Linked DNA regions of Homo sapiens: region 1 is linked to region 2. Evidence: promoter capture Hi-C in human tissues and cell types (Jung and others, 2019). All regions are on one chromosome and are shown on one strand. Each heading gives the region's core, a stretch centred on a gene start or on the middle of the fragment in contact. The rest is flanking DNA. Distances are from core to core; before and after follow the strand shown.

The links. The method cuts DNA at HindIII sites, captures the fragments that hold promoters and counts their contacts. A contact is called where the count stands out against the background at its distance.
Region 1: the fragment with the promoter of AGO4 here is called in contact with the fragment with the promoter of KIAA0319L in region 2 in 2 of the 25 tissues and cell types used here (adrenal gland and mesenchymal stem cells).

Annotation. Positions count from the first base shown.
Region 1 is chr1:35,805,785-35,810,791 of GRCh38, reverse strand. It overlaps AGO4 (argonaute RISC component 4), which reads right to left and starts at 2,776. Exons shown (of 18, transcript NM_017629.4): 1 at 2,357-2,776. The coding sequence starts at 2,375. CLSPN-DT (CLSPN divergent transcript) reads right to left here. Exons shown (of 3, transcript NR_199050.1): 3 at 3,852-4,047. RefSeq lists enhancers at 1,724-2,003, 3,103-3,602 and silencers at 2,154-2,403, 2,684-2,893. The HindIII fragment of the contact is 21,017 bases long and covers 1-5,007 here.
Region 2 is chr1:35,555,790-35,560,787 of GRCh38, reverse strand. KIAA0319L (KIAA0319 like) reads left to right here and starts at 3,385. Exons shown (of 21, transcript NM_024874.5): 1 at 3,385-3,581. NCDN (neurochondrin) reads right to left here and starts at 2,989. Exons shown (of 7, transcript NM_014284.3): 1 at 2,565-2,989; 2 at 1,541-1,681; 3 at 1-462. The coding sequence starts at 2,597. RefSeq lists enhancers at 1-591, 1,048-1,773, 3,152-3,211, 2,501-3,227, 3,228-3,955 and 1 more and silencers at 2,161-2,370, 3,442-3,581, 3,592-3,691. The HindIII fragment of the contact is 15,948 bases long and covers 1-4,998 here.

The sequences.
Region 1 (5,007 bases), core at 1,527-4,026, 250 kb before region 2:
CAACTGATATGACAACATAGAACAGATGAAGTCAGCCTTAATGAAGAGGAGATGATTAGATTAGAAGTCAAATGACCCAAACTCAGGTCTTTATTTCACCACTTGACCCTTTGAAACCCTAATGAAGTCACTTCATCCTCTCTGAACCTCACTTTTCTCATCTGTAAAATGGAATAACTACCTGCCCTGCCTACCTCCCAGAGGATCAAATGAGCTAATAGTCATAAAAGCACTTTACAAACTATAAAGTACTGCAAACAACATATTACCAAAATAAGTGGAAATCTAATTAATTATATTTCTGAGTATTGGCAGAAACTGAACTAGGTTGCAGGGAGGCGGTGGGCAGGGAGGGATAGAACAAGACTAGAAGGCTTCAGGGACTGTTCAAGTGAGGAGGGCACAAAGCACTAGATCCAGGTGTGCTCTGCCAAAGAAGCAGGGATGATTCTCTAGGTTCTAAAACAGCCTGGATGAATCATCCCACAAGACGATCAACTCCCTTTGCTCTGATTCTATGCTTAGCAGGCAGCTACTTATTAGTTGGGTTTCCAAGGTACTGCAACACCAAAAAAGGAGTTTGCTAGAGAGCAGACAGGAAAATATTCCACTCAACAGAAAAGATCCATGTGACATTTTGGCTTATTCATTAGTGTCTTATAAATGTGGTTAGTGAGAATTAATTTTCCACAATCTGAACAATCCTGAGTGAACCACTAAGTCCTCAAACCTGCAAAAGCTAAAATCAAAACAAAAAAAAAAAAGAGTCCCTGGGCAGTGCCTAATATCACCAGGTTGATCCTTTCCATGAAATTCAGTTTATGCCCACAGTTACACAATTTCTTTCGATATCAGATCATAAATGCAACAGTTGTTTCAATTATGAATTACTAGGGGGAGGGAAGAAACATCTGTTGAGCATCTATAGGCACTAGTCTCTACAATAAGACTTATCATATACTCTCATTTCATTCTCTCAACAATCTTACAGAACATACTTATTATTACCCTCAATTTATAGACGAGAAAATGAAAGTTCAAAGGAATTGAGTAATTTTCCCAGGGTCATACAACTATTACATTACTAGATTGAATCTGTTACATTCCTAAAGACCTGAGCATGTCTTTAGCCAGGGGACATATCTGAAGTTAACCTGGCATAATACACTGAAGTTTATCAAACAATATTAATGCGGCAAGCCAATTTATTTTTAAAAGGCATATGAAATTTGATTATGAGGGCCTTTAAACAATACTTTAAGAAGCAAATTAGGGTGGGGCTTAATCACTCAGCTATGCAAACAAGTGCTAAGTAAACAAACGTGCCAAGTTTCCAAACTCAAATGGCAACTCGAATTTTCTACGCACTAAAAAGATGAAACACTCTACGACTAAGTTCATTATGTAGGTAAAGTTTGAATATTAAAGTGAATTCCACCACAGCCCCTAAACACTGAGCTACTTAGCCAAGGCATTAGAAACCTGTTGGGCTTTGAGGTGGAAGCACCAGGCCCCAATACTCAGGACACTTGTTACAGCCTGGAATGGTTCTTCTGGTTTGGATAGAGAGAAATAACCAGAGGCCATCCATATCCACAACAAATTAGTTTCCAAAGCACTTTCTCCTTCATTTGATCCTCACAACCACTCATAACCCAATTAGAAGAGAACTCAGGGCATTGAAGCCTGTGGTGGAGCAGACTGACTGGCAACTCCTGTGTCACTCAAAGGCTGGCTCAGACCACTCTGAGACTAACACACAGACTGAGTGACAGAGGCACAGGACCATGTTCTTTGGGACATCAGGGCCTTTCAGAAAGGGTGGGCATTTTGTCCCTTGACCTTCAGAGATCATGAGAGGTGTTTGGATGAAGTTCTTCTTCCTCATCTGAAGGCTCTGGACCATCTGCCAGTGCAAAGAAAAATAGGGGCGCGGCCCCAAACCAGGACTACCGGCTGGTAGTAGGCAGCGGGGCCCTTTTCCCGGTCTGGGCCAGGCCTCCGCGCGCACTGGGTAGCGGATCGCCCCCTTCTGAGGCCCAAACTACCCTCGTCGCGACCCCGGGCACATATCGTCTCCCCGAGGTGGGGCCAAGAGTGGCCTCCGCCCGGCAGCGCCGGTCACCTTCCCGAACCTCCCCCCTGGACCTCGGGATCCACCCAACGGCCGGCTGGGGCGCGGTCACCGCCCCCCAGGCCCGGGTCAGCTCCCTCCGCTTCGTGCTGCGGGGCTCGGGTCCCCTTCCCCGAGGCCTGGCGGCCCGAACCCGGCGAGGCGACGGGGCAGCGAAAGTCCCGGCCGCCCGCCCCGGGTCCCGGGTCCCGGGTCCCGCCCCGACCCGAGCTCGCTCCTCACCGGGTCCCAGCGCCTCCATGGCGGCGGCGGGGGCCGCCTCGCCCCGGTCCCCGGCGCCTCCCGCTCCGGGCCCCGCCGCCGCCGCCGCCGCCGCCGCGTAACGCTTGATCTCCGGAATATTGGCGCTGGGGTGGCGCCGCGGAGACGCGGGCGCTGGGCAGGGGGCGGCGGCGGCGCCCGGCCCGGGGACAGGGACCCGGCTCCGGCTCTTCCGGCCTCAGCGACAACAAAAACAATCCCCGCCGCCGCCGCCGCCGCCGCCGCCAACGGGAGCGGGAGCGGGAGCCAGCGCGCGCGCCCGCCGGGAGGGAAGGGGGCGCGGGGTGCGCGGACCCAGGGTCCCGGCGGGCGGAGGGGGCGTGCGCGGCCCCGGGCGCGGGGTCCACAGAGCCCGGCAGGCGGCGAGGCGGGTCGGGGAACGAGCGCGCGCCCGGAGGGTGCAGAGCCCGGTGGACGTGTCGGGCACGCGCCCGCTGGCCCGCTCTGCCCCGTCCACCCGAGGAGGCCGTCCGGTGGCCAACGGCTCTGGGGGCTACGTGCCATCCCCCCAGGGCGTCCTGCAAAAGATCTGGATTCCAGTTCCGCTGACCCACAGATTCAGTTTTCCACTTCTGTGAGTGGAAAGTGTACTGAGATTCACAGGAGCCACCTCGCCTCCCTCCTCCCTCCTCCCACCCCAGATCGCTTCTGTCATCTCGTCTTTTAGGGTCACCTTAGACGCTAGCAGTCCTCCTTCATCCCTTCATTCAGCACCACACACCCAACTGCGCGTCCCTCTCCGTATAGCCGGAAGGCACCACGGGAATGGACCCTGATGAATGATGCATTCCCTCCCTGGTCCCATGACAAGCGCCTCTGGTCAGCAAATCACCAGTCACTTTAGAAGAGAAAGGTCTTGGCCGGGCGTGGTGGCTCACGCCTGTAATACCAGCACTTTGGGAGGCGGAGGCGGGTGGATCACCTGGGGTCAGGAGTTTGAGACCATCCTGGCCAACATGGCGGAAGCCCATCTCTACTAAAAACACAAAAAATTAGCCGGGCGTGGAGGCAGGCGCCTGTAATCCCAGCTACTTGGGAGGCTGAGGCAGGAGAATCGCTTGAACCCGGGAGGCAGAGGTTTCAGTGAGCCGAAATCGGGCCACTGCACTCCAGCCTGGGCGACAGAGCAAGACTGTCTGAAAAAAAAAAAATAAAAATAAAAGAGAGAGAGAGAGAGAAAGGTCTTGCTTTCTTGGATGCCTTCCCCTTAGCAGACAAAAGCCAAGGGAGCAGCACCACCTCCAAGGCAGCATGGTCAGCCCAGCAGGCACAGCATCTTTAGGGCTTTCAGTAAGGACTTTGAGTGGGAGAACACTGGACAACAGGCCAAGAAGCAGTTTCTAGTCAGCAGAAGGAAGGAGCCCCTTGTCCACCAATTGAAAAGGTACGATGAGTTTGTGTGTGTGTGTTGTATTCCTTTGCTACGGCATAACGTAACAAAGTACCACAGACTGGGTGGCTTAAACAACAGAAATTTATTTTCTCACAATTCTGGAGGCTGGCAGTCAGAGATACGATGTAGGCAGGGTTGGTTCCTTCTGAGGCCTATCTCCTTCACTTGGTAGATAGTGGCCTTCTCCCAGTGACTTCACGTGGTCTTCCCTCTGTGCACGTCTGTGTCCAAATTTCCTCTTCTTATAAGGACAGCAGTCCTATTAGAGTAGGGCTCACTCTAGTGACCTCGTTTTAATTTAATTACCTCTTCAGAGACCCTGTTTCCAATTACAGTCACATCCTGGGGTGCTAGAGTTAGGACTTCAATATACAAATTATTGGGGTGGGGGATAATTTAGGCCCCTAGCATGTGTGGTGGGATATTCATTTGAGCACCTGCCATGTGCTGTCACAGAGCCAGGTAGTTTTTTTATGTAATGATAAAAAATATTAGCATCACATCCTGGCCATGCACTCTGCTATGGGCTTCTCATTGTCACTCAATCTTTACAACCACCAGTAAGGTAGATATTGTTAAGAAAGGTATTTGTACAGATGATGACACCGAAGCTCAGGGAAGTTAAGTAAGTCGGGCTTTGCATTACATGATGCTGAAGTGAAGCATGGGAAAAATTGGAGTTCAAATCTTGCATTTAAGTCCTGGCTAATTCTCTCCCTGATTGGCTATGGAACTAGGACTTTTATTTTTTTATTTTTTATTTTTTGAGACGGAGTCTCGCTCTGTCGCCCAGGCTGGAGTGCAGTGGCGCCATCTCGGCTCACTGCAAGCTCCGCCTCCCGGGTTCACGCCATTCTCCTGCCTCAGCCTCCCAAGTAGCTGGGACTACAGGCGCCCGCTACCACGCCCGGCTAAATTTTTTTTTGTATTTTTAGTAGAGACGGGGTTTCACCGTGTTAGCCAAAATGGTCTCGATCTCCTGACCTTGTGATCCGCCCGCCTCAGCCTCCCAAAGTGCTGGGATTACGAGCTTGAGCCACCGCGCCCGGCCGGAACTGGGACTTTTAATCTAGTGCCTACATTCTTGTCTACTGATACCATACCCTATATTCTTTTATTTTTTTTGACCCGGAGTCTCGCTCTGTCGCCCAGGCTTGGGTGCAGCAGCGCGATCTCGGCTCACTGCAAGCTCCGCCTCCCGGGTTCACATCATTTTCCT
Region 2 (4,998 bases), core at 2,136-4,635:
CTTCCAGCACTGTGTCTCGGCAGCAGCCAGCAGCCCCACCAGGAGTGCCAGGGCCTGGTCAAAGCCATAGCCGTGCCCCAGGTATGCCTGGCATAGGGCAGACACGGTGCCACCAGCAATGAGGTGCCGAGGCCCTCTGGGTGTGCCTGCTACAGCCGTCAGGCACTGGTAGGTGTCATCAATCATGGAGCGGCGGGCAGCATCGTCCGGGTCCCCCCGGGCTGTGAGGAAGGTGCTAAGAATGGGAATCTTGTTCAGGACTTGGGGATGGGCGGCCAGTTCAGGGTCACTGCAGAAGCAGGCCAGCAGGGCCACACCCAAAGCCCGCAGAACATGGTCAGGGCAGCCATCCGGCGCCTCCTTGGTGGTCAGGAGACGATTGGGGAAGGTGAAGCCGACAGCATCGAAGATCCGCCGCCGAGTTTTGGCATCTATGTCACCTGCTTTGACTGCCTTGGTCACCTATAGGGGGTATGTGCTATCATCAGGATGAAAGGAAGAAGTGGGAAAGACTGTCCCTCTCCTGCATCCTGGGGCACTGAGGACTAGCAAGATGAGGTTATGCAACAGGACTCATCTGAGGTCATTTCATCCAGCTCCTTTTTTCTCCTTAGAGGCAGATAAATGTGACCTCTGGGATCCCTCTCATCTGTGACTGTCCCATGGAAGTGAGGTCTAGTCTTCCTCAACCATTCATTTGAGCATTTCAACACCTGGCCAGTTGAGAAGTTCTTCCTGATGTCTAAATGCCCACAACCTGGGATGGAAGGGGCTTAGAACTCAATGTTTTAAGATCTCCCAAGGATTTAAAGTCCTTCCTTAATTGCTCCCTCCAGAGAAGTCCCTGATCCATTTCTGCCACCTTCTCAGGGGAAATGGCTCCTGTGTCTCGCCGCTCCGCCTGTCAAAACATTTCCCCTTACATTTCACCTAAACACCTCCTCTGCTGCAGTGTGAGCCCTTGACTCCAGAGCCTTCTCCTTGTTGCCATGGCAAACAAGCAGCGGCTGTACTCCCTCCTCCCTTCACCCCCCACACACAACCCCCCCTTCCTAGCACTGCAGCTTCTGCTCTGCTGTCCCCAGCTTGGGTTCCTCCAAAAAGGCTAAGCCCCAAACTAGCTCCCATTCCTTAACCTACCTACTGCCATCCTGGCCTTCCCCTAGGACCCCTCCCCAGCCACTTCCAGCCCTGCTACTCTCTCCAGGCCCAGAACAACCATCCCCAGCCCTCAAGTACTCTGCACTAGTTACTACCTGCTGCTGTTACCCTATGAGTCAGCTTCCATCTGCTCTGGGACGCCCCAGAAAACAGACCCAGGCAGCCCCTAGTGCCACAGCCTTATTCAGTCCCATTCTCCTCTTTGCCCCCATTCTCAGGGGGAGCAAAAAAGAGCACAAAGGTAGGGGTCTTGGGCCTTCGTTGGTGCCTCCAGGGTTGCTAGCACTACGTACATATCCTTGGGGACTCACTGACCCCATTCCTTGGGGGCCCAACCACCCAGCCCTTCCCACCTCCCAATTTTCAGCCAGTTCCTTACTAGCAGCAGGGCTGCAAACTGCTCGCTGTCATTCTTGGCCTCACGGAGGGCTCCCAGGTAGCGCTCCAGGGTGGGGTTTCGGCCCTCTGCCTGGTTCAGAGCTGGCTCGCAATCCGAGGCCATGATGCTCGCCTTGCCCAACTGTGAACACAAGAGGGACTGAGCATCCCTCTGCAGAGGAGGGACGGGGGTGGGGTGGGGGTGAGAGTGGAGGATGGAGGGAGGGAGGGATTAGCACAGAGGGAGGGGAGGAGAGAATCTGGAGGGGTGGACTCCTCAGGACTGACCTCCCCCCAGAAGCCCCTTTAAGGGGCTGGATCTGCAAATCCTTAGGGATAAAGAAGGGACCCTGGTCCAAGGTCACCTCCAGAAAGCGGGAAAGAAGGACCATGCATGCTGCTGCTCAGCCGGACAGCTCTCCTCACCAGTCTCCTGGGGGTGGGCGGGAGCTGGCCCCACTGCTCAGCTGTCCCCCTGGCACCGGAGGCTGGGTTTTATCTCCCTCCACAGGGACACAGAGGGAGTGAGTGGTGAGGACAGACAGGGAGAAATGGAGACATACATGGGTGAAGTTCGATTATCCGGACTCAGGCTGACATGGGAGAAAAGGACACCCCAGGCTTCCTTTCCCCTCCCTTCTTCAGAGGCAGAGATACGCTTCAGAAGTGAGAATACAAGACGCTCAACAGGGAAGGCTTGGAGGCCCCTTTGGGGACCCCACCCCTCCAGCCAGGGCTCTCAGTCGCCCCCGCAGGCTCCTTGCCTCCTCTCCTTTCCCTCCCTCGGGTAGAGGCTGCAGCAGCAGCAGCAGCGGCGGCGGCAGCAGCAGAATTAACCCCTTGCGCTCCCTCTTCTCGCCCTCCCCGTCCCGCTACCAGCCTGTGGATGCCGGCAGGGGCTGGAGAAGCAAGAGGGGGTCCCGGATAGTTCCCAGGACAACGGAGAATCCAAAAGCCGGATAATCGAAGCAGGGCTGCTGAGATGGGGAGATGAGAAGGGGAGGAGGGTTCCTGGCGGTCACCACCTGTCCCGCCGCAGCCAGGTCACAACACGACATTGATGAAGTCACGACAGGGCGGCGATGAGATCACACTTCACGATGGCGCGGTGATGTCACGGAGAGATCACGTCAAAATCACGACATGGGAGACAGCCCCCAAAGATGACAGGGCAAATTAAAAAAAAAAAAGATATATATTGAAAAGGGCTGTGACAAAATGGAGTCTCGACAGGGCACGATGGTGTCGCGATATGGCGCGATGGAGTCGCGATAGGGTCCCCGGGGTGTGTCGGCATCGATCAGCGCCGGCTCGGAGAGGCCCCGGCTGGGATGCAGGGGAGGGCCCGAAGGGGGCTGAGCTCACCAGGCTGCGGCCCCGAGCGGCGAAGTCTTCTCCCAGCGCGATGCTCCGGGAGCCTCGGGCCGCTGCTCACGCCGCGTTGCCCACTCCTGGCTCCAGGCTGCTGCAGCTCCACCCCCACCCCCGCACCGCTCTTGACGAATCCGCGGCTGCTTCACTCCGGGCTCTGGCCAATGGCAAGTCAGGGTGCTAAGCAGTAGGGGGTGCCGCCGTTGCCGCCATCTTGCTTGTGGGTATTGCCCGAGTCTGGGGGCTGGGGCTCGAGCGAAGGAGGCAAGGTGCAGACTGCCTCTGGAGAGCGGGCGGCGAGAGGCTGGGGGCCCAGATTCCTTCGCTTGTGCGTAGTTTTACCCGCCCAGCACTGCCCCTCCTCCCCCTTGGTCTCGCGGCCGGCATTGCCCTTCCCGGGGGAGGGGCGGGAGGGCTTGGTTAGCATGGAGAGTGTGTTTCCGGGTCGGTCCCGGGGAGGTGGGAGGAGGCGGTGTTTCCGGCCGCCGTCGCTGTCCAGGGAGGCTGAGGCGAGAGGTAGCTGTCCGGGTGGGGAGCCCGCACTACCTTCTTCCTCTTCCTCCTCCTCCTCCGGGTGAGGGGAGCGAAGGTTGGGGGTCCCCGAGCCCATGGACCAGGAGGAGGCGGAGGCCGCCGAGAGCCGGGGCCCCGCTATGTGGCCCTGAGCCCCGGTAGGTGGCCGGGGGCGGCTGGCTGCCAGGCCGAGGACCATGGGCTCAGGGGAGGGGCAAGCGGGACGGGCGATGTCAGCGGCTGCGCTGGCCGGATGTTGGGTCCGGAGGTGGCGCCCCTGGCTCGGCCAGGGCAGCCAGCTGCTTCTGTCCTTGCAGGTGCGCAGCTTGGGTCCCAGGCTGAACCCCGCTTCTCTCGGGCCTGGGCCTAGTCATGCAGCTCCCTCCATCCCCTGAGAGCCAGGCAGACAGCCGGGGTTCGGGGCGCTGCCGTCCTTCTTCCACCTTCGACCTCTGCAGCCTAGTCTTTAGTTGCTGTCTCTGATGTTTGGTCTCTCCACCGAGATAGAAAGTTGGTGCAGAATGAAGAGGGGATGGGGTTGAGCACGATGTGTCCATTATAATGTGAAACCTGCCTCATCCACGATTTTGAAAATTATGCCCCACAGAGGGTCCTGTAGTGGCTGCAGTGAGCACAAAGGTGAAATGAAGGAAGTCAAAATTGATAACCTCTGGCGGGATTCCAGGAACTCTTTGGCTTCTGGTCTCATAGTGGTTGTGTCCAACTGACAGTAGTTGCAGTTAGTGAAGAGCATTAGCTGACTCTCCTTGTGCTCTCTCCTGTGATTAACAGACTGAAAACTAGGAACAAATTGGAAAGACGACCTCCCAGAACAATCTGTTCATTTTTCCAGCTATTTGGAAAACAGTGTCTGCAAATATAAGCAAAGCTATTCATGGCAGTCTGTTCTGTAACTTTCCCAAATATCTGAGACTTTTTAAAAAAGAGCTTTATTCTCGATTACTCATACCAACTGAATAGATTGTTTCAGACGTGCTCCATCGTTGTTCAAACATATCTTATCGCTGTGTACATAAATGGAGTTCCACGTATGTAGTTGACAGACTGAACTGTGATACATCCCCCATCAACCTGAAGTATTAAGTAAACATTACCCCCTGCTCTGTCTGAACAGCTGCTGCAACAGAGAGTGCTTTTATTTTGGGTGTACTTGTAACGCCCTAAATGCCAGAACTATTGTGAGCTTCTCTAGATTTTCATTTGTCAAGTATTGTGGGGGTGTGTGTTCTCTCCCTGGGTTGTTACCCTTTGATTCAGTAACAAACTATTCGGATCTTGGTGATGTGTTGTTGTTCTTGCGTTTGGTCAGCAAGCCTTTAACTGGACCCTAGCAGTGATTTGTGCCCTTAGGCAATTATAGGTTTCAGAGGAATGACTGGTTAGGAGTTCAAATGAAATTAACTCTGCCTTTCTCTTAGACGCAAGATTTATTAGACATGGCACTTCTAATCAGCTTGTTAGTCCAGTGGTGTTTATTACTCCATTTTTCAAAAGCTATTCATTTCTTTTCTGCTTCTCCCACCCACCTGTCAGGCTATTGATGACAGCTGTTGA